Regions from separate parts of the Homo sapiens genome. Here all the other regions are linked to region 5. Evidence: promoter capture Hi-C in 16 types of primary human blood cells and fetal thymus (Javierre and others, 2016). All regions are on one chromosome and are shown on one strand. The core of a region is centred on a gene start or on the middle of the fragment in contact, and the rest is flanking DNA. Distances in the headings are between cores, read along the strand shown. Region 1 has its middle 5.6 kb from the start of CD82. Region 2 overlaps LINC02696 (long intergenic non-protein coding RNA 2696). Region 3 overlaps SYT13 (synaptotagmin 13). Region 4 has its middle 24 kb from the start of CD82. Region 5 holds the start of TP53I11 (tumor protein p53 inducible protein 11). Region 6 overlaps LINC02687 (long intergenic non-protein coding RNA 2687). Region 7 has its middle 18 kb from the start of CD82-AS1.

Region 1 (2,954 bases), core at 28-2,527, 390 kb after region 5:
TCCAATACATTCAAACCATAGCAGAGTCATTCACTGAAATATCACATTGGGTTGGCTCCCTCAGCATTGTCCCTATCCCCTCTCTTCCAGCAGAAGGCAAGCTTTGTCATGACTCACCTTGGGCATTTTGCCAGGCAGAAAGCGCAGACACTTCTAGTGAGACTCTACCTCTAGTCCATTCTAGAGGTGGAGCCAGGAGTTCTGGAGGTGGGAAAAGGGGTGAGAAGAACCACCCTAGAAAGCCTTGAGAGAAGATATCCATGGCCAACTTGGAGATGGGGAAGACGGTGGTGTGGCAAGACCTCAGAGAGGTATGGCTATAGGATTGCCAGGCTCTCAGAAGATTCCCCCACCCCAAAGGTGGAAGATGAACAGCTGAGCAGGAGACTTCAAAGAACTTGTAGGCAAGAACATGGGGGCCAGTTCCCTGTTAGTGTCTGGGCCTAGGTTAAGGCCCCAAGACTTTTGCACATCTCTGGTGGAGGAAGGTAAAGAGAATGAGTGCGGGTATCTGTTTCCTACTGTTATGTAACAAACCATCCCACTCATTTATTTTGCCCATAAATCTGCAGTTTGGGGTGGGCTCAGCAGCAACGGCTTATCTCTGCTCTACGCAATGTCAGGTGGTTCAATTGGAGGTTGGGGATCCATTTTCAAGATGGTGTACTCACACACCTAGCAAGTTGGCACTTGCTGCCAGCTGGGAGGTCAGCCAGAGCTGTGGAGGCCTTTGGTCCTCTCCATGAGGCTGCTCCACAGGTTGCTTGAGCTTCTTCATAATTTGGCTGCCGGTTTTGAAGAACAAAGACTCACTTAGAAGTGCATGGCATTTTGTGACCTAGCCTTAGAAGTCATATAGGATCACTTCCTTTGCATCCTATTAGTAGAAGCAGTCACCAAGGCCCTGGTTCAAGAGCAGGGTACATAGTCTCTTTCTTAACCAGGGGGTAACAAAATTCTAGAAGAGTTTTCAAGAAAGGAGATATTGTTGCAGCCATCTGTGAAAAATACAATCTGCCCCAAGCGAGTCCTCAGAATGACTGGAGGAGGGTTTCTCTGATGGGAGCTGAGAGTTCAAACTCAATTGATTGTTTTAAAAAATGGTATACAGTATGTATCACACAAGCATTTGTGCACAAATGAATAAGAAGTTCAGCAGTGGACAACTGGTCTTGAGTAGCTGGATGTCTTTTTTTTGTTTTTTTTTTAGATGGAGTCTCACTCTGTTGCTCAGGCTGGAGTGTGGTCGTGCGACCTCGGCTCACTGCAACCTCTGCCTCCCAGGTTCAAGTGATTCTCCTGCCTCAGCCTTGTGAGTAGCTGGAACTACAGGTGTGTGCCACCACGCCCAGCTAATTTTTTTGTGTTTTTAGTAAAGACTGGGTTTCACCATGTTAGCCAGGATGACCTCGATCTCCTGACCTCGTGATCCACCCACCTCGGCCTCCCATAATCCTGGGATTACAGGCGTGAGCCACCGCGCCTGGCCTAGTAAGTGGATGTCTTAAGATCTTTCTTCAAGAGTCCTCAGAATAGAGTTAGCACTTCCCTCCCTAAACCTGCACTGTTTCCTTAAAGTTACAAACTTAAAAATTGCACTCATTTAATCCTGATAGCAACAACCCAGTGAGGCACATACTATTATGAGGCCCATTCCCAAGATGTGGAAATGGAGCACTCAGATGCTAAAGTCATACAACTAACAAGTGATGGAGGAAAGTGAAGTTGCAGCTTATATATAGCTAACCCAATTTTCAGTTCCTGAAATTGAGCCCTAGGGGAAAGGCCCAAGTTGGGACCCAGTGAGCGCCCAACACTGAATCGCAAAAGCTCGCACTGGATCAAGGAGGTTCCCCAGGGCCTTGAAGGGACCCTGCTTCCTGCTTACAGAAAGAAGGCTGGCCCCAGAAAGCTGGGCTCCAGCACTTGCTTGGCATAACCCCGCCCTATCCTCTGTCCTCTTGCCGAGTCTCAGGCCAGGAAGTGGTTAATAGCACTTTCCCACACTTTCTGTTTCCATTTCTCTATTCCTGAACACAGTCATTCCTGCATTTGAATGGGCTCAGCAGGACCACCGACCTTTATTTTTTTCTCCAAAGCACTTAAAGGGGATTGGAACTCTAAGCCCATTATAGCTGGGTTGTAGCTGAGGACAGGGGCTGAGTTCCCACAGAAGACACTGAGCCATTGATTTGTTCCTGTCTCAGTCATTTCAGAAAGATCAGTGAGGCCCCTGCTCAAATCCTGCCCTGCCGCCTACTACATCTGAAGGTCCAGGGGTTACTCTTCAGGGGGCTTTTAGCCCCTGTACATTGCCATGTTGCCATAGCAACTACGACACTAATAATGGCAGCCACCGTTTTAAAAGTAAGCTGTAAAATAACTAATTTAAATATATTTAACTAATTTGATAACTAGCATTTGCGTAGCACTTTACATATTCTAAAGCTTATTTATATTTATCTTACAACTGTGGCACTTGGGTAAGTCTTTGAAACTATTAAATCATGTCCCCCCCTCCCCAAATTCCCTGTTCTACCCGTTTATTTTTCTTTTTAGGCATCAGCTTAAACCCATGGTAGGGTTATATACATCCCAATATATGTCATTTGTTTATAATAGATATGTATGTACTATTTTATTAGCCATTTTGCATAATATGAACTATGCACAAAGACAAATATTTTATTTTATTTATTATTATTATTATTATTATTATTTTTGAGACAGATTCTCACTCTGTCGCCCAGGCTGGAGTGCAGTGGTACAATCTTGGCTCATTGCAACCTCTGCCTCCTGGGTTGGAGCAATTCTCCTGCCTCAGCCTCCCAAGTAACTGGGATTACAGGTGTGTTTCACTCACGCCCAGCTAATTTTTTTGTATTTTTAGTAGAGACGGGGTTTCACCATGCTGGCCAGGCTGGTCTTGAATTCCTGACCTCAGGCAATCCACC
Region 2 (2,925 bases), core at 303-2,802, 410 kb before region 5:
CATGGGCCCTACCTAGACCTCTGAATCAGACTCCTTAATGCTGAAGCCTAAACATCTCTACCAAGAAAAGTGTTCTCTAAGACTCAAGTACAGAGCATGTGCTGAGACAAGATTCTTCAAGCTGGTATGTGTGTATGTGCGGGCACACGCATGCTTGTACAAGTCTTAAGATGTCTAGGACATATCTGTAGAGTTGTTCTATATCATTTCCATGTTCCTTCCCAGACCCTCTGCCCTCCATCCCAAATGCTTTTCTTGCCCCTCTCCACTGTGTCTTTGCCCACATCTTGTGCTTCAGGCTCCACTCTATGTAGCATTTGACCCCCTGGCCTTTACCAGCCTTCCTGTTTCAATGTACCTGAGATGAGATGGCAGCAGCTTTGGGGAAGCAGAATCCATTCGTACATTCATTCATTCATTCATTCATATGTCACAGACTATTTGAAGTTCTGGGGATACAGTCATACAATATAGACAAGATGTTTATTTTCAGGGAGCTTACATATTAATGGGAGGAGACAGTCAATAAACAAAGGAAGATACAAGAAAATAGCAGTAATGATGAGTGTTGTGGTGAAACTGAATCAGGATGACGTGACAGAGAGTAACAAGGGGGTACATGAGTTTGGGTGGTCAAGGGAGGACTTATTTGAAGAGGTCACATTGAAATTCAGCTCTAAACAAGAGAGGGCCAGCTCTGCAATAACTGGGTGAAGAGGGTTCCAGCAAAGGGAACAGCTAGTGCAAGGACCCTAAGGCAGGATAAAACTTGGCAGGTTGAAGAAAGAAAGATAGTATGTCTGGATTATAGTGAGTGAAGGGGTAGGGAGTGGTACCAGATTGAGTCCAGATCACATAGGGCACAGTAATTAGTGGGGGAAGACAATAATTCTAAACACAAAAGTGATAGAATCTAACTTACATTTTAAACAAATATTTTGGCTGCTACTGTGTGGTGAATGGACTGGGATGGTGAAAATGGGTCAGAAGATTAGAAGCAGGGAAGTTAAATGAAAAGGATCTTGCAGTTAACCAGGTAAAGGATGATGATGCCTGGGTTAGGGTGGTGGAGATAAGAACAGTGAATGGATTTAGGATATATTTTAGAATAAAAGCGGATCGAATTTGTTGATGGGTGAGCTGTGGGGAATGAAAGAGGGAATCAAGATTGTTCCCAGGTTTTTGCTTTGAGTGCACTAATGATGGCACCATTAGTTGACATAAGGAGCCCTGGGAGAGGAAGAGATTGGGGGCAGGAAAGGAAGAGTTTGACTTAGACATGTTAATTTGAGATATTTATTAATGAACCCACTGAAGCCCCCATCTCATACTTTATATCTATCACTATACCAAGAACTATGAGATCCAAGACCTTGCCTTCCTTTTCAATTCCTTGTTAAGCAGGAATAAAGTGAAAAATTACTGAATAAAATATTCAGTTTTTTTGCAAAACACTCTTACGTTCAGAGGTTTGGTAGCAGAGCCATATCTTCCCAGGCAGGCATAAGTAGCCAATCAATCTCCATGTCATACCAAGCAACGGTCCAAGGGGCAAACTAATTAAAAATTTAATCCCATGATTTTCATCTTAATCTCTTTTTCCCATTAGCTTTGATCAATGCCTACAACTACAATTTAACCAAACTTTTCATTTAGATAAATGACTCAGTGGGGTACCTATTTAGTCCGTTTGTTATGAACCAATGGATAACTAAAATGTATATGCTAATTACTAAAGACCACACACTAATTTTCAAAGCATTTTATTAGCACAAAAGCTGTGTTCCTGTTATCAAATGAAATGCGCTTCCTATGTTACACTCAGTAGTTGTTCAAACCAGTTTCTCTTGACTTCAGTAGCCAAATTGCAGCATGCTGTGTAGGTACACAGTGCACTTGAGAAATGTCTGCACATCCCAACCCTGCACTATATCACAAGCAGTAGTGAAAGGTGTAGCAAATAAGAAGATTCCATGAACTTCTCAGCTACCTGAGACTTCTGCTGCACCCTGAAAAAAAAAATCAGGCTAGAAACCACATAAAACAACTAAACCAAACTGAATGCAGGGGCTGCTATGAGGAAGAATGAACTTTGCAGCCTGTTCCAAATGCTAAGGTGAAGGAGGTCCTTCCTGGCTCTGCTCACTAGGTGTGCAAGTCAGGAGATATTCATTTCGTGATCATCCTTTCCTATCACCTGTGGTGAAATTTCTACTGCTTTCAAGTCTTCCAGCCCCTATTTGAATGCCAAAATTCTTAAGTTCCTTCAAGTAAAAGAGATCTTCATTTTAAAAATAAAAGTCAATGGCTCTGGTCTCCTGTAGCCTTTTCAGCCCCTGTAACAGTGCTTTCTCACTTAGATTTTCACTGTCACTTCAATAAAGGGGTGAGAAGAGAGAACTGGCCTGCGATCAATGAAAACTATTCAGTAAAAACTCTTCATGCCAGACATGGCCCCAGAAACAGGAGGAAAGTTTACCAGACAGCAGGAGTGGGTGGTGGCTGGGTCCAGTGGAATGGGTAAACCTAAAAGGGGACGAAAATGGTTTTCAGGCTGCTGTGGCCCTCTCTACACACAAATTTTGTGGCCATGAAGTCCTGGCTACTAAGCATCATTGTCTTTGCGCAACCGCTGCACCTGCCACTTCCCTCAACCCATTAATAATCGGGTTCCTGGGAGGATTTTCATCCCCAATTTACTGGACATGCCTCCGAGCCACCTCCCCGCTCCGGCCCTCCCTCTCGTTGGTCGCCTTCAGACTCCCCCACACGCGGGACGGCCCCTCCCCCCACCCTCCTCACCGGCTAGCCGCGGCCAGCAGAGCCTTCGAGCGGCTCTGTCAGGCTGCCCTGGAGCGTAAGGAAGAAGAAGGCGCGAAGGAAGAAGACTTCCTCATATTCTTGGCTTCCAAGGGGCGCTAGGGC
Region 3 (3,100 bases), core at 485-2,984, 320 kb before region 5:
ACTGCTAAGTACATTCCTGTAGAAATATTTGAGTAACTGTTTTCAATTCTTTCAAGTATATACCTAGGAGTGAGATTGCTGGGTCATATGGTAATTCTATATTTAACATTTTGAGGAATCGCTAAACTGCTTTCCACAACAACTGCACCATTTTAATCTCCACCAGCAATGTATGACAGTTCCCATTTCTCCACCTCCTTGCTAGCAGTTGGTATTTTAATTTTTATTTATTTTATTTATTTTTTTTTTTTAAAAAGTCATCCTACTGGGTGCAAAGTAGTATCTCTTTGCGGTATTTTCTGAGCTTTTAATATCTAAAAAAAAACCCCAAATTCTCACTTTTAAAATATTCATCAGTAGCTGGCAAGTTTTTTTAAAAAAATTTTTATTATAAGTTCTGGGATACATGTGCAGAACGTGCAGGTTTGTTACATAGATATACATGTGCCATGATGGTTTGCTGCACTCATCAACCTGTCATCTACCTTGGGTATTTCTCCTAATGCTATCCCTCCCCTAGTCCCCCACCCACTGACAGGTCCCGGTGTGTAATGTTCCTCTCTCTGTGTCCATGTGTTCTCATTGTTCAACTCTCACTTATGAGTGAGAACATGTGGTGTTTGGTTTTCAGTTCCTGTGTTAGTTTGCTGAGAATGATAGTTTCCAGCTTCATCCATATCCCTGCAAAGGACATGAACTCATCCTTTTTTATGGCTACATAGTATTCCATGGTGTATATGTGCCACATATTCTTTATTCAGTCTATCATTGCTGAGCATTGGGTTGGTTCCAAGTCTTTGCTACTGTGAACAGTGCTGCAATAAACATACATGTACACGTGTCTTTATAGAAGAATGATTTACAATCCTTTGGGTATATATCCAAAAACCACAGTAGCTGGCGAGTTTTCAACAAACATTTGCTGTCTGTATTGAGCAACTATTAAAATGAGTCCACATGGGCAACCCGTAAAAACATTTCATTGTTCATGAGTCTCGTGAGAGGAATGGAGTGTGTGTGCAGTAGTCCTGGCTGCCCTGTTCTTCCAGCAAGTTTGCACCTGCTGCTCTGTCTGTCAAATATGTTATTATTGTCATCTTTCCCATTCTGTTCCCCCAAGCTTTAGCCCCTCATGGGTCCCACTAAAATTCCCCCCAATACCCAGGCCCTGCAAACCCCATCTAATTGAGGCAGTATTTAGGGTCTTTCAATATTTCCTTACCAGGCCAGTGTGATGCCTGGAGGAGCCTTGCCCCTCTCCAGGGCCAGTTGCTGCCCACACAATGAACCTTCAGGAGGAGTTCAATAAGTCCCAATTCATTAGATAAAGGGTGCTGTAATTGCCTTATGTTATAGAAAAGTCCTGGGAGATTTTTACACACTGCTTAAGAATGTTACAATGATATTTGGGGAAGTTGATTGTGGTTTTGGGGTAGACTTGGAATGCATTATAATTTTTCCCTTAAAATAATGGAGTACCAGTGCCTGCTTTCTGAAATCTGCTAATCACCATGTTTTTAGGAACAGATCAGAGTCAAATAATGAGGGGGAGTTGCATATATGAATATGAATGAAAACAAGCGTAAAGGAGAGAGGGGTCCTGTGAGAATTCTGCGAAATTGAGTCAGTCCATCTGGCATAGACCCTAGAATATTTTGACATATTTCATTGATTCCTCTCCCTATCCCCACCTCCACTCATTAAGTCCAAGACATGCTTTTTCTGTCACAGAAAGTTGAGCAGGACTTAGCACATGGCAAAGAGAAGTGAGGAGACATGTTGAATGACTGAATACATTGATGAATGGATGGGTAGACAAATGAGGAGGTAGGGATCTGTGGGGCTGCCACCTCTGCTTGTAGCCAAAATGAAAACCACAGGCACAGAGAAGCAGGGGAGGGTGCTGAGTCCACCGAAGGATCTCTATGCTTGCCTTTAGTGATATATCAAGAAATCAAGACCAGCAGGAAGCATGTGGCAACTTCACTTTTTACAGGTTTCTCTCCTTTCAGGTCTCTGTTCATCTGGCTAACGTTAGAGAGAGTTTTTTAAATCTTCACCTGCAAGGCCAATGAGGTAATACCCAGGGAGATGTTTTATTTGGAAGAGCATTATAAACCACACAGGTTGGACTCTCTGGTAAGAACAGCACGATGTAAAGGCTGTAGGTTTATTGAGGCAGGATTGCAAAGACTTTGCTTTTCAAATAGAATTAAGAAGGATGTTTTGGAAAAGATGGTGTTTGAAGATGCAGATAAGGTTGGGTAAAAGCGGTTTGGTAAGGCAACTGGAAGAGTTGATTGAAACAGCTGCAAGTGTAGAATATCTTCTGTTAGCTTTAAGCTTATTCTGCATTTCTGAATGCCCCCTGCACCCTGCTTCTCAGAGCATATCGCGGAGCATCTTAAAATACACTTTGATTTCCAGCACAGTCACTTCACATAGAGGAAAGGGGAAGCTATCAGAGAGGAATACAGTGAAGGCAGTGATGTGACATGAGGAGAAAATATTCACATGATTTGGAGGGTTTCTTTGCACATTCTTTGCAATGCATCATCTAATGATCTCGTCTCTTACTTACTAACAAATGGAGCAGATTCTTTAAGTGGCAACATGACTATCACCCTTTGCAAAACAGCCTCCATACAAAACACATAGAGACAAAGAACAGAAAGGAATGAACGTGAGGTTAGGTGCCTAGCCTAATCCCACCACATTGTAGCCTTGCATTTGATTTTTGGGTACCCATTGGAGTTAATTTTAGGTAACAATCTTTGAGACTACTCGAAAGAAAAAATTAACTCAGAATGAAAATGTTCACTTTTATAATCAAGATGCTGAGCTAAAATGGGAATCAAATGAGACTCAAAAACCTGAATTTGAATTCAGACTCCACCATCTCCTAGCCAAATCACCACAGCCATTCTGAATCCCACTTTGCTCATTCATGAAACAGGGATTCTACAAGGTTCTCTAAGGTTATATGGAAGAATGAATGAGATGACACGTATGAAAGCACCCAACGGATTCAGCACTTGCCTTTGATCAAAGGATATTTTTAAGAATCTGTTAATTATTTTCTTATTTATCCTTTACCAAA
Region 4 (3,024 bases), core at 374-2,873, 410 kb after region 5:
GTGATAGATAGTTGTTAGAGTTGTTATGAGAATGAAAATGGTGGTGTTACTAGTGACACTGATGGTGGGAGAGGTGGTGATAACATTGATGGCAATGATAACAATGCTGATGATGGTATCTGATGAGAATTATGTGGTTGCTATGGTGATGAGGATGGTAATGGTGTTTGCTATGGTGGTGATGATGGAGATGGTTGCTATGGTGATGACGATGGAGGTGGCGGTTGCTATAGCGATGATGATGCAGATGCTGGTTGCTACAGTGATGATGGGAGTGATGACTGTAGTGATGAGAAGAATGGTGAAGTGTGATGGTGAGGTAATGAGAGGTCATTATGGTGATGATAATGATGGTGGTGGTGGTGATAGTGATGATTGTGTTGCTGATGATGGTGGTGATCCTGATGACAACAATGGTAATGCAAGAATGGCATTGACATTGGTGGTGTTAATAGCGATATCGATGGGAGCTCTTTTTATGGCTGGATATAGAATTGTGAATCACTTCTCCCTGGTCATGGATCACCTTTTCTTCATGAGATGACAGCTAGATTTATAATTCCAGATCTGATCTGTTCAACAGTTCCTGGACTCATATATGCATTTTTATGTCTCATCTCTTCTCATGCAACCACATGTGGAACTCTTCTTCCCTTTAGCATCTGCCCCACACCTGTTCCTCCTGTCATCCTCATCTAAGTAAGTCACAGCACCATTCATCCACGGTGCAAATTCTAGGACATACCCTTGGTTCCTTCCTTTGACATATCTTCCCCATCCACCCCGATTTCCAGCCCTTCAGTAAGCCCAGCCACCTCTACCTTCCAATGCTTTTGATCTGCCTCCTTCCACCCTTTTGTTCCAAGTCACCGTCATCGCCCTCCTGGCTTAATGCAATCATCTCCTAACTGGACAACTCAACTCCCTGGTTTCAGTCTTTTTTATTTTTATTTTTTATTTTTGGAGATAAGGTCTCACTCTGTTGTCTGGGCAGGAGTACAGTGGTGTGATCACGGCTTACCGCAGCCAGCCTCCAACTCCTGGGCTCAAGTGATCCTCCCACCTCAGCCTCCTGAGTAGCTGGAACTACAAACGTGCCACCACACCCAGATAATTTTTTTTTTTTTTTTTTAGAGACAGGGTCTTGCTATGTTGCCCAGGATGGTCTCCTGGCCTTGAGTGATCTTCTCACCTGGATCTGCCAAAATGCTGGGATTATGGGCGTGAGCCACCACACTTAGCCTGGCTTTCACTCTTGCCACCCTACAATCCTTCTCCTCTCAGCAGTCAGAGTGATACTTTACAAATGCAAATCAGACCTTATCATGTTTCTGCCCCAAACTTTCCTACAGTGTTTTATTGCCCTGGACAAAAATCAAAGCTTTTTTTTTTTTCTCTAGGCATGTGCTCTAACCCCCGCCTAGTTGTCTGACCTCCTCTCCTCTCATGCTTCAGTCACACTTTCTGTTTCTCTAATGCCCCAAGCACCTTCCCACCTCGGGGCCTTTGCATCTGCCATTCCCTCTGCCAGAAACACTCAGTTCCTAGATCTGCACAGCCAGTGGCAGCGTAAGAATTCAAACCAGCTGGGTTGGCCTCTCTCAGCACATTGCTTTGCTTTATCTGCCCTATGATATTTATCACCATCTTCATCTTATTTACTTATTAGGTCATTATTAGACCCCCTCCCACAACAAGAGTGTAAGCCTCATAAAAGCAGGACCTATGTCCTTGTTTCCCACTGTGTCCCCAGCATTGAGAACAGTGAATAGTAGATGTTCTACAAATGGCTGTGAATAAATTGATTGGCTCAAGAGACAAATTAGACACATACCTCACTCCAAGTAAGTTAAAAATCAAGCTTATGACCACGTGATCTCCTCAGTGAACACAGATCATCCTTCCTCCTCTGCTCTTGTGCCCTCTACTCCCTCCCCAGTTCACCTCCCAAATCTGATCACAGCTTCTGGTTTGAGTTCCTTGCTCCACCCCTAGAGTAACCATTGCAACACATAAATCTATTTTCTTCTGCTCCTCCACCTTCCCAAGATGCCAAGAGGAAAGAAGCGCAGGGGGAAGAAAGTGGCCCCGGCCCCTGCTGTCATGGAGAAGCAGGAGACCAAGAAAGTGGTGAATCCCCTCTGTTAAGAAAAGGCCTAAGAATTTTGGCACTGGACATCCAGCCCAAAAGTGACCTCAGCCGCTTTGTGAAATGGCCCTGCTATATCAGGTTGCAGCGGCAGAGAGCCATCCTCTATAAGTGGCTGAAAGTGCCCCCTGTGATTAACCAGTTCACCCAGGACCTGGACCACCAGCTACTCAGCTGCCTAAGCTGACCCACAAATACAGACCAGAGACAAAGCAAGAGTAGAAGCAGAGGCTGTTGGCCCAGGCTGAGAAGAAAGCTGACAGCAAAGGGGACATCCTCACTAAGAGACTACCTGTCCTTCAAGCAGGAGTCAACACCGTTACCCCTTGGTGGAGAACAAGAAGGCTCAGCCAGTGATGACTGCATGTGAACAGACGTTTGGTTGCCAGCCTGCTGCTTCCCGCAGAGAAGAGTGTGCATGCTAGGCCGATCACCTCTCAGCAGGTAGCTTGGAGACAATGGGCCTAACCATTTTGAGTAGCACTTGACATGACGAGGATCCCATCGAGCTTGTTGTCTTCCTGCCTGCCCTGCATTGTAAAATGTGGGTCTCTGATTGCATTATCAAGGGGAAGGCAAGACTGGAACGTCCAGTCCACAGGAAGACCTGCACCACTGTTGCCTTCACACAGGTTAACTCAGAAGACAAAGGAGTTTTGATGAAGCTGGTGGAAGCTGTCAGGACTAATTACAACGACAGATATGATGATATCCGTCGTCACTGGGGAGGCAATATCCTGGGTCCCAAATCTATGGCTTGCATTGCCAAGTTGGAAAAGGCAAAGGTTAAAGAACTTGCCACTTAACTGGGTTAAATGTACACTTTCATTTTCTGTACATAAAAATCATTAAAATGATACAAATTCTCCTTCAAA
Region 5 (3,321 bases), core at 363-2,862:
TCATTATTGGCTATCACTGTCTAGGTGTTTGGCTGGGGGCAGTGTCAGTGGCACTGGGGCATCAGAGTTTATCTACCTTAGTAATCAGGACAGTTTATATTCACTGAGCACTTACTATGAACCAAGGACTGTTCTGTTTACTTCCTTGCCAAGGGCACAGACTCTCCTGCCCAATCCCAGCTCTGGTGAGGACAGTGGGAGCCTGCATGGCACAGAGTCCATGCACAGTAAACATGAGCAGCTCCTATTAACTCTAAATCTCTACAGCAACCATAGCCGGTTCTTACTATTGGTTGCTCTAGGTGACTTACTTTGTCCAAGGCCACACAGGCACTAAAAGGCAGAGTCAGGATTTGAACCTAGGTGATCTGGTTCCAGAGCCTGCTCTATTAACCGTTAAGGAACTGGTGCAGACAGAACCGAGACCTGGAGTCAGAATGCCCACCTAGCTAGATGCCTGAGGCAGCCACTCACCTCTTTCTGTCTTATTTACTTGTGAAATGGAGCATGTCATCAGCCTTGCCTTCCTTTTCCCGCAGCCCCCCACCCCGGTTCCTGGCCCACTGTGACCATCAGATCAGATGAAAGAGATCCAGGCATTTCTCTAAGGAGAGCACAGGGTGGTGGGGGTTGGGGTGGGAGAGAGCACATTATTTTCCCACCATAAGGGGTTGAAGGAGCCCAGAATTTGGGGGTGGGGCCTTGTCTGTAGGAGCCTGGTTCTCTCAGGTTGACACGCCACCAGAGAGCCTCCATGACCCCCAACCCTCATCCTCACCCCAGCCCCCCATAGGATGTGTAGAGACAAAAGGTTTGACAACTGTAGCGCCAACAAGCGTCCTAGAGCCCCAGATAAGATCCTAGCCTCCTGACAGCGCAACTGACAGCAGCATCTCTGAGGCTGGATTTTAGGGTGGAGTATGAAGAAGGTGGCCGTAGTGACAGTGGGGTCATGTTATTTGGCCAAGTCACACCAAGCAGGGAGAGAGAAGGGTGGGCCTAGGCTGGAAGCCTGAAGGCTGAGTGAACTCAAACTTTAACGACCATGGCCTGTAAAATGGGACTAAGCACAGCGCCCTTATGGGTTGCTGTGAAAATCAAATGAGTTAATACTTGTAACTCCTTTAGCATATGGTGTCTGGCATCAGAGAGTGCGCAGCAAACGGTGACTATTGTCGTGACTGTGTTATTACACACTTGGGTATCACCGCCAGCCAAAGCAGTCCCTTCCATTTCAGGCACCGGCCTGGGCCCGGGAGACACCGCAAGGCTATTTAAGATGGTGTGGTTTGCCCATCTACGTTGATCGTCCCAAGAAAGGGGCACCGTCTGCAGAACTTGCCAGGAAAGTCATCCTGGGCGGCGCGGGCCACGCCAGGGTCTCCCCGCGCGGCTTCCTCCCCCGGCGCCTTCTCTCGGGCGCGCGTGCGCCCCCTGCAGGCGGCCCCCGGGAGAGCCTCGCGGGGGAGCCGGGAGCCTGGTTTCCCCGCCAACCCCCATCCCGCCCGCCCCGGCGGCCACCCTGGGGGCGAGGCAGCCCGGCGCGTGGGAGGGGACGGCGCGCCATTGGCTTGTGCGCGGAACCGAGAGGAGGGACCAGCGCGGGCCGCCAGACTCGGTAAGCCCCGGCCGCGCAGGGCGCCGCGCGCAGTCCAGCCGGCCCGGCCCTGCCCTGCCCTGCCCTGTCCTGCCCTGCCCTGCCCTGCCCTGCCCTGCACTGCCCGGCCCGGCACGGGCGGCGCGATGTGAGGCGTCCGAGCCCGGAGCCTCCGCCTGGCATCAGCTCCACGTAGCCCAGCGCCGGCACGCGCGAGGCCCGTAAGTTCTGCTCCCCGCCGCCGCTTCCGAGCCGCGGACTTTCCCCTCCCGCCGCCCGCCGCCTGCGCAGCGCAACCCAGCGGGGCTCCTGCGGCCGACGGGACCGCAGAGGGGCGGCCGGGACCCCGCGCGCGCTAACCGGGCGCCCCGGGACATCTCGGCACCCGCTGAGCCCGCTGGGACCCCAGGGGGTCGCCTCCCCAGCTCCCCAAGGCGCCGTCCCGCAGCCCCTTCCGTCTCCCCTGCGCGCTCTCCCCTCGCCGCCCCTCCCTCTGACTCGGTTTCCCCTCTCCCCCGGCTCCGCGGTCGCCCTCCTCCTGGACTGCTTATTTCGTCCTCGGCCACTGCCTCTCGGGCTCGAGCTTTCTGCTTCAGAGCAGGAGAGAAACGGAGCGAAAGCAGTTTCTGTCTCCCCGGGGTCTGACTCGGTCCCCCGCGCTCGGTTCTCTGTCCCCTCCCCCTCCCGCCATTGTTCCCGGCAGGAGGAGTGCGCGGCGCAAACTTGCGAGTTCCCCCAGTCTTTGCCCCCGCAGGGCCGCGGACGGAGGTGGTGGCGGAGTTCCCGCTGCCCACAAGTCTGGCCCGACCTTCTGGGGTGGGGGCCTGGGGGCAGGGGCCCTGGGCCGGAGAACCCGGGGCCGCCTAACGGCTCGGAGCTCACCGCCGGGGGACACCGGCGCTGAGGCCTGGGTCTCAGAAAGTGGGTGAGTGTCTGGAGCGGGGACATCAGGGACAGATTGCAGGGGGAGGGGCGAGGCTGAGAGAGTCCCCCGTCCCCAGGCTGGAAAGGGGCGGGCAGAAACCCAGGCCGCGCCTTAGCCCAGTTAGGGGGTGGGTAGGGGACGCACAGGTGGAGACGCCCCCCACTCTCCCCAAAGTCGCGCGATCTGCAGGAAGGGTACAGTGTGGGGCCACTGGCCGGGCGCTGGGTGGGTTAGGGCCCCTGCCGTGGGCAGAACACTCGCACCTACCCGGGGGAGGCTGTGTGGAGGAAGGGCCAGAACGCCGCGCCCACCCCGGCGCGCCCCGCTGGGCGGGGCGGGGCGGGGCGCTCGCCTTGGGTCCCCTCGCTCTACCTTCCTTCGCCCTGACCCAGTCTCGGGCTTCCGCCTCTTCCTGGAGCCCGGGGGGAGTGGGTTTCTCCGCCGGAGAGATGGAGGCTGGGGCAAGAGCAGCGCGGAGGCCAAGAACCCCCAGGCTCCTCCAAAGCCCAGAGCGGCTGGCCAAGGCCCCCTCACCGCCCCACTACCCTGCACTTCCTGATTGGTTTCTTTCAAACAAACTTCTTGACGGGGCGGGCCTGCGGGGAGAAGTCACCGGGGCTGCCCACCCCAACTATGTGGTCCCTTGGACCTCCACCCCTGACGGCCTGTGGAGAGGGGACCAGGATCTGCGGCCCGCAGATCCCAGGGACGCGGGGGTCGTTTTGTTGCAGAGCCAGGAGGGGGCACTGTCCGCTCCTTAGCCTCAGCCCCAGACTTCGAGAAAGGAGAGAAAAGATTT
Region 6 (3,118 bases), core at 354-2,853, 420 kb before region 5:
TTTAAGATGTAAGCCAGGCATATCACTTCTGGGAAGCCTTCCTGGATCACCCCTTCCCCATCTGCAGGCAGAGATGCCCCAGGTACTCAGCACATCCCTCTCCGTCTGCTTAAATTACGTGTGGACTTGTCCGTCTCTGCCAGGCTGTTGAGCATATGGGAGCCCCTGAAATAAGGACAGGGATTAGATCTTTCTCATCGCCAGTGACTAGCTCTGGGCCTGCCCCATAATTACAGCTTGATGAGAATTTCTGGAATAAAGGCAGACATACAAGCAACCATGACGTCGGGCAGGAGGTGATGAGAGATGAGATTATAATGAGAGGTACAAGGGCAAAAGAGGAGATCGATTCTAAGTCTTTCTGGAGGTGGTGGCAACAAAGCAGGGTCATAAAGCATGGGTAAGCTTTCAATAAGCAGAGATGGAAAGACAGGAGCCAGCTTGGGAGCTCCGCTAACCATTTGTATAAATGCAATGTAGCTGCTGGCCTCGGCCATCAGGAGCAGACCTGAGACCCAACCCTAGTATCCAGTCCACTGGGAGTCTTGACCTTGCCCTTCCAGCCATAATATTACGAGTAAGGGATCCAGATTCCCAGTGCAGATTGCCTGTCCTTAGGTCACTGGAAAAAGAAAGAAATTTGAATGTTTAAATACCCTGGCCAGATTTTCCATTGTTCTGATTCACTTCCCTTTATTTGCCCTGAAGCTCAGTCCCACTCAAACAGCGCTCCTTGTTCATTCCCTCATTTTATCCTCTGTAGGCTCAAAGTCTGCAAGCAGCTGAAAGGGAACCAGAGCCTGGGCTGGGCTCAGAAGGCCCATAGGCTAAGCCTTTCCTGCTTCTTCCTGAGACCCTGTGTTCTTTGGGGCTATGCAGAGACTGGGGAGAAGAAAATTTCTTTGCTAAGAAGAGTATTTGGATGTGTTGACAAGGTCTCTATAGTAACCAGGAAATTGAACAAGTGTCGCCAGAAACCCACAATCAAGAAGGTGTATTTTTCCCCCAGATTGGTCAAGGAAGCTCGTCTAGGGCTGGGGGTTTAGCCATGAATGTGAGCAGTTAGAAACCAAGAAACCATGCTCCTTCACTGGTTGGCATTAGGAGCTAAGCTGAGCCGATCGCTGAGGCTCACTTGGTGCTCAGGAGCACAGAATCAGATTTGCCTTTGTAGGCAATTCAGTCTTGCTTTTGATCAAAGAAAAGGCAATAAAAACCAAAACCAACAACAAAACAGAGAAGTAAAATAACTCAAGATAGAGCAATCGAGTTGGGTCAACTTTTGGTGTCTGAGAAATAACAGAACCCTGCTTCTAGAACCCACTCTTGAGGTCCAGAAGGGGTGGATGAGGAAGGCTGGTTACAGACAGCAAGGGAGGGGTGGACATTTTTGGAGCTTCTATGTGCTAAGCACTGGATTCTGCCGAAATTGAGGTCAAAGAGCACAGTGGTTAAGAGTAGAGTGCCAGAGCCAGGCTACCTGGGCTCAAAATCTACACTGTCCTCTCCAGTTTTGTCCCTGGGGTTTGTTTAACCATCCTGAACCTCCATTCCCTTAGCAGCAAACTATGTTGTTATGAAGATTAAATAAGCAAATACATATAAAGAGTTTAGAACCCAACCTGACACATAGTAAATGCTCATTAAGTATTAGTATTATATTAACTTGTTGAATCTTCACATTAACCTATGGGTTTGTAATTCTACTCTCCTCAGTTCGTAAGGAAACAGGCTCAACTCAAGAAATCCCCTGCCCAGGGCACACAGTTGGCAAGAGGCAGGAATGGGACTCAACTCCAAGTTTGGCAGGCCTCCTCACCCCTCGATGCCTCTGATAGGAGCTGGCTTTCCCTATGAATCTGGATGATGATGGGCTCTTCCTGGCTCTTGGGGTTTCGTTTCTATAAGGGAGGCACCACTCACCATCACACACGACACCCATGTGATGGGGCTCACAGAGCAGAGTGAGCCTCCCTCACAGTCACAGGCCAGAGGGATCAAGACAGCATCCCATGGTCCTTCCTCCCTGCGGCCTCCATGGCTCCTTGTCACCCAGGATGACAGACAGAGCACCAGGTTGGGAATCAGCAGGTGTGGGTTCCAGCTCTGCCACAAACCTGCTGCATGACCTTGTGCAAACCAATTTCCCCATCTTAAAAACGAAGAGGTTGGATTTTGCCATCCTGAGCTCTCTGAGAGTCTGAATTTACAATTCCGGGGATCAGAGTGTCACATCTCACATGCTAAGATGAAAAGGTGAGCGTTTCAGCCAGTTGACTGCAGTGAGAAGAGATCACCCATCCTCTCAGTGCCCCGTGGAAGCACTTCCATTTAGGACACATCATACATTCAACAGGCTTTGAGAAAAACTGGGGGGTGGAAGTGGGGAGAGAACCACTATTGACTTTGCACACCTCAGGCCCTGGGATTGACATTTCCACACACAAGAACCAGTGACAGCAGCCCGATGGCATGGGGAGTGTTTGTGATGCCATCTTACAGAGGAGGCAACTGAGATGCAGGGAAGTCAGGTCTTAGCACCGATATGACCTTTTGATGCAGGTATTTCTGAATCCAAATTGATGGTCATTATAAGATTATAAGAAAACAATAAATTGCAAGCAAAAAAATGAATTCCTTTTTTTTCTTTTCTTTGTTTTTGTTTTAAAGCATTTTGCTTTTTAAGGGCCAATCTTCTCTTCATGTGCGAAATGGGAACCAAGATCTGGGTCATAGCTTACAGTCCCAAAACCCAGTTGTCCTGGAAGAAAACAAGGACTCATCAGGGCCTGGAAAGCTTGTGTCTGAATCTCCAGCAATCCATGGCTGGCTGATTTCTTCTAAAGTCAGCCAAGTTGGAGCCTGGCGGCTGAAAGACCATTTCACTGGCGGCACAGAACCCATTCCCCATGCGTTTCACCACCCACAGTTTTCTTGTCCTACCTGCGTTCCTCCTTGGCAGGCAGTTTACCAGACATCCAAGCACCAAACGGGGCCATGTGGATCTGGCCTGGTCGTCTGTACAGCTGGAGGAGCCACGCCTCTTCCTGACCTTTCTCAGGAAGCAAAGCACCTACTGTCTTCCCGGCAGAGCCAGGGCAAGCATGGGCTTGGGAAT
Region 7 (2,947 bases), core at 421-2,920, 330 kb after region 5:
AATCATGGGGCGGTTTCTCCCACACTGTTCTTGTGGTAGTGAATAAGTCACAGGAGATCTGATGGTTTTATGAGGGGTAACCCCTTTTGCTTGGCTCTCATTCTGTCTTCTCTTGTCTACCACCATGTGAGACGTGCGTTTTGCCTTCTTCCATTATTATGAGGCCTCCCCAGCTACGTGGAACTGTGAGTCCATTAAAACCCTTTCTTTTGTAAATTGCCCAGTCTTGGGTATGTCTTTATCAGCAGGGTGAAAATGGACTAATACAGGCCTCTCTCCTTCCATTTTACCAGACCCCCACTGACCCACCAAGTGGGTTCCTCGACAGCTTCCCCATGGAAAGAACTCAGACACCACCCCAAGCGCCTGAGTCCTCTATGAACCAGGACCAAGAGGATTGGGTGCTGGGATCACAGGGCCCCTGTCACCCTGGAAGCCCCAAGCTGGGCTCACCCAGGTGTGTGATGCAAGGGCAGAGGATGGACCCCTCCACTCCTATCAGCTGCCACTAACATCCCTTCCCGCCCACTCAGTCCTCCAAGAGGCTGCTGGAGACTCTCCAGCTCTCTCCTTCCACTCCCCACCTCCACACAGCCCCTCTGCACTCCCAGCTGTTCTGGCTGGCCGCCCCTCTGCCCCCAGCATCCTGCAGGAAGCCCACTCCTATCCCAGGGGCTACTGCTTAAAGCATCTGAGGTCACTTGGGGAGAGGCACTTGGCTCTGGGCCTGACATTCCCCTTGCTCAGAAGGCAGGTGCTGGGGAAATGATGTCAGATGGGACAGCTGGGGGCCGGGGTGCTCACAGCTCAGATGTCCTCTAATGGCCCTCCTACCTGCTCACCTTCCCACTAGGCAAGAGGCTGAGTACAGGTCTTACCTGCCCCAGCCCCAGCCCCTTGGGCCAATCAGCCATCCCTGCCCCGGAGGCACCAAGGCCCAAAGTCCTCCCGTGGGCCTCATTCCTACTCAGGGAAGGTATCCCCCAGAGGATGGGAAACCTCCCCTTGAAGCTGGGGCCAGTCCTGGAATGGGCTGCTTGGGGAATGAGCTCACTGTGTACGTGACCGCATTTGGCTCCCACAACAGCACTGGGAGTGAGGAATGAGAGTCCCCATTTTCCCGATAAGACTAAGAGAGGTGAAGTTGCACAGCCTGTCACGTCCAGTGGCAGCTGCTCTGATTCTATTTGATTTCAGTTGGGAAGGGGATTGCCAGGGCAATGGCTGATTCCTGCACTGTGGCAGGGGCGATGAGCACTTCCTCCTACTTTCCTGTTTGTTCGACGCGCTGTTCATTCTACTTCCTTCCACAGGAAGGGGCCTTGGATGGGCCCCAGGGATCCCACAGCAGCACTTGGCTCAGACTGTGCTGTCAGCAGTCGGCAGTGTGTGCTGGTACGTACCTGTGTACGTGTGGCAGGGTGTGCTGTGTGCATGCGTGTGCTGTGTGTGCACGTGTGTCCTGGTGCATCAGTTGTGTGCAAGAGTCTCTACACTCATCAGAATGCAGGTGCCATGTGGGCAGGGGGTTTGTGTGTGTTCACTGCTGTGTTCCTAAGATCCTAGAACTGTGCTTCACAAATAGTCTGTGCCATTAAGTATTCATGGGATGAATGAATGAATAAATGAATAAACCTTAGCCTACAGCCTCTAAAGACCCCAGAGAACAGCCAGACATTTGCCCCGAGGCAGCGTAGCAACCTGGGTCTCTGTCCTTCTGCAGGGGAGAAAGGCGATGGGAGCGCTGGCCCAGGAGATGCCTGTTGGCTAGATGCTCCAGCGTCACCAGTGTGCCCCTCCACCCGGCTGCTCTCAGCCTGGGGGACCTGCTCACCTGGAAGATCATCTGGGGCAGAGGCTGGAGGCAGCTCTGCTAGGAGACAGGATGGTGATCAGCGGCAGAGGGGGCTCTGCAGTGTAGGCCCGGGAAGGCCAGGCAGGAAGACACTTGGCTTTCCCTGTTCACTACGGGCCACCCATGGCTTAGTCTCAGGGAAGAAGAGCTAGGGTTCCTCCCAGCTGGGAATGGACTGAGCCCTCAGGGGCCTTCAGGGCCTCGAGTGTGTGCGTGTGAGAGAGTGCATGCATGTATGTGCACATGTATCAGGCTGCCATTCACCAGTACTCACCCAGCCAGCCATACCAGTTATTATGAATAAAATGGAGAAATATTTCCACACCAGTTGAAAATTCCCCCCCAGCTCAATCTCTCAGAGCTCCTGCACCTCCCGCCAATCCATACGTAAGGATCCCATTCCAGCTCAGGCCTGACTTCCATACCTATTGGTCAGTGGCCATGCCAATCAGTGCCCCCCAAAGTCCAGCTCCCTGAACACATCCTAGGCACTGTCTCTAACCTCCCACGGGAGCCCAAAGAGCAACCCTTTGCTCCAGCCATTCTTCCTGGCTGCCCCAGGGAGCTGTGGGTGGGCACTGCCAAGGAGCACCCTTGTACTCTCCTCCACATGGTACCCATGTGCCAGTCCTTTGGGCCTGTCAGGGCCCTTGGCAGGAGAGATGGCAGCCCACAGAGGGCCCAGGGAGGGCAGCTGGAAGGTGTGGAAGCCCCAGATGGGCATGGGACAGATTAGTGGCTGCAGGGACGATTCTGAGTGTTAGACATGGGTCTATGTTCCCTCCCTCCCAAAACCTCACAGGCTGGGAGTAAGTGGGTTGCTGAAACTGGGTGCTCCCCAGGAGGTTGAAATGAGGAACCCAGCAGGCTCAGAGCTCACAGTGACCAGATTTCACAAAAGCGAGGGTCAGAGCCTCACACTACACACGTCCTGGGGCTGTTCTGGGAAATCTGGAAGGGCAGGAGCCAGTGGAGCCAGGAGGATGGTCTTTGAAGTCAGATACGTGGGGTTCAAATCCTGGCTCTGGCCCCTTCCAGCTGTGAGCTCTGGGCAGGATGGACGTGTCAGAGGAAGCAGCCCACCCCTTCGCT

Evidence for each region. The method cuts DNA at HindIII sites, captures the fragments that hold promoters and counts their contacts. A CHiCAGO score of 5 or more calls a contact.
Region 1: a fragment that was not itself captured here is called in contact with the fragment with the promoter of TP53I11 in region 5 in 5 of 17 cell types (neutrophils, naive CD8 T cells, activated CD4 T cells and 2 more); the score reaches 6.6 in neutrophils.
Region 2: a fragment that was not itself captured here is called in contact with the fragment with the promoter of TP53I11 in region 5 in 3 of 17 cell types (activated CD4 T cells, naive B cells and total B cells); the score reaches 7.0 in activated CD4 T cells.
Region 3: a fragment that was not itself captured here is called in contact with the fragment with the promoter of TP53I11 in region 5 in 1 of 17 cell types (non-activated CD4 T cells); the score reaches 5.5 in non-activated CD4 T cells.
Region 4: a contact is called between a fragment that was not itself captured here and the fragment with the promoter of TP53I11 in region 5, in 1 of 17 cell types (naive CD4 T cells). The highest score is 5.4, in naive CD4 T cells.
Region 6: a fragment that was not itself captured here is called in contact with the fragment with the promoter of TP53I11 in region 5 in 1 of 17 cell types (naive CD4 T cells); the score reaches 5.4 in naive CD4 T cells.
Region 7: a fragment that was not itself captured here is called in contact with the fragment with the promoter of TP53I11 in region 5 in 1 of 17 cell types (naive CD4 T cells); the score reaches 5.6 in naive CD4 T cells.

What each region holds. Positions count from the first base shown.
Region 1 is chr11:44,558,619-44,561,572 of GRCh38, reverse strand. No RefSeq gene overlaps it. Among named protein-coding and RNA genes, the nearest start is that of CD82, 5.6 kb to the left of the region's middle. RefSeq lists an enhancer at 1,774-2,410. The HindIII fragment of the contact is 2,347 bases long and covers 104-2,450 here.
Region 2 is chr11:45,355,480-45,358,404 of GRCh38, reverse strand. It overlaps LINC02696 (long intergenic non-protein coding RNA 2696), which reads right to left. Exons shown (of 2, transcript NR_120558.1): 1 at 2,803-2,925; 2 at 1,748-2,009. Among named protein-coding and RNA genes, the nearest start is that of LINC02696, 1.6 kb to the right of the region's middle. The HindIII fragment of the contact is 6,359 bases long and covers 1-2,925 here.
Region 3 is chr11:45,273,864-45,276,963 of GRCh38, reverse strand. The region is part of intron 1 of SYT13 (synaptotagmin 13); the gene reads left to right. Among named protein-coding and RNA genes, the nearest start is that of SYT13, 11 kb to the left of the region's middle. The HindIII fragment of the contact is 1,223 bases long and covers 1,123-2,345 here.
Region 4 is chr11:44,539,719-44,542,742 of GRCh38, reverse strand. It overlaps the pseudogene RPL7AP79. Among named protein-coding and RNA genes, the nearest start is that of CD82, 24 kb to the left of the region's middle. RefSeq lists an enhancer at 2,342-2,948. The HindIII fragment of the contact is 480 bases long and covers 1,384-1,863 here.
Region 5 is chr11:44,949,174-44,952,494 of GRCh38, reverse strand. It overlaps TP53I11 (tumor protein p53 inducible protein 11), which reads left to right and starts at 1,612. Exons shown (of 7, transcript NM_006034.5): 1 at 1,612-1,818. RefSeq lists silencers at 1,423-1,682, 1,713-1,842. The HindIII fragment of the contact is 12,322 bases long and covers 1-3,321 here.
Region 6 is chr11:45,372,666-45,375,783 of GRCh38, reverse strand. LINC02687 (long intergenic non-protein coding RNA 2687) reads right to left here. Exons shown (of 5, transcript NR_122071.1): 1 at 2,944-3,118. Among named protein-coding and RNA genes, the nearest start is that of LINC02687, 2.8 kb to the right of the region's middle. The HindIII fragment of the contact is 2,392 bases long and covers 408-2,799 here.
Region 7 is chr11:44,621,910-44,624,856 of GRCh38, reverse strand. No RefSeq gene overlaps it. Among named protein-coding and RNA genes, the nearest start is that of CD82-AS1, 18 kb to the right of the region's middle. The HindIII fragment of the contact is 4,125 bases long and covers 1-2,947 here.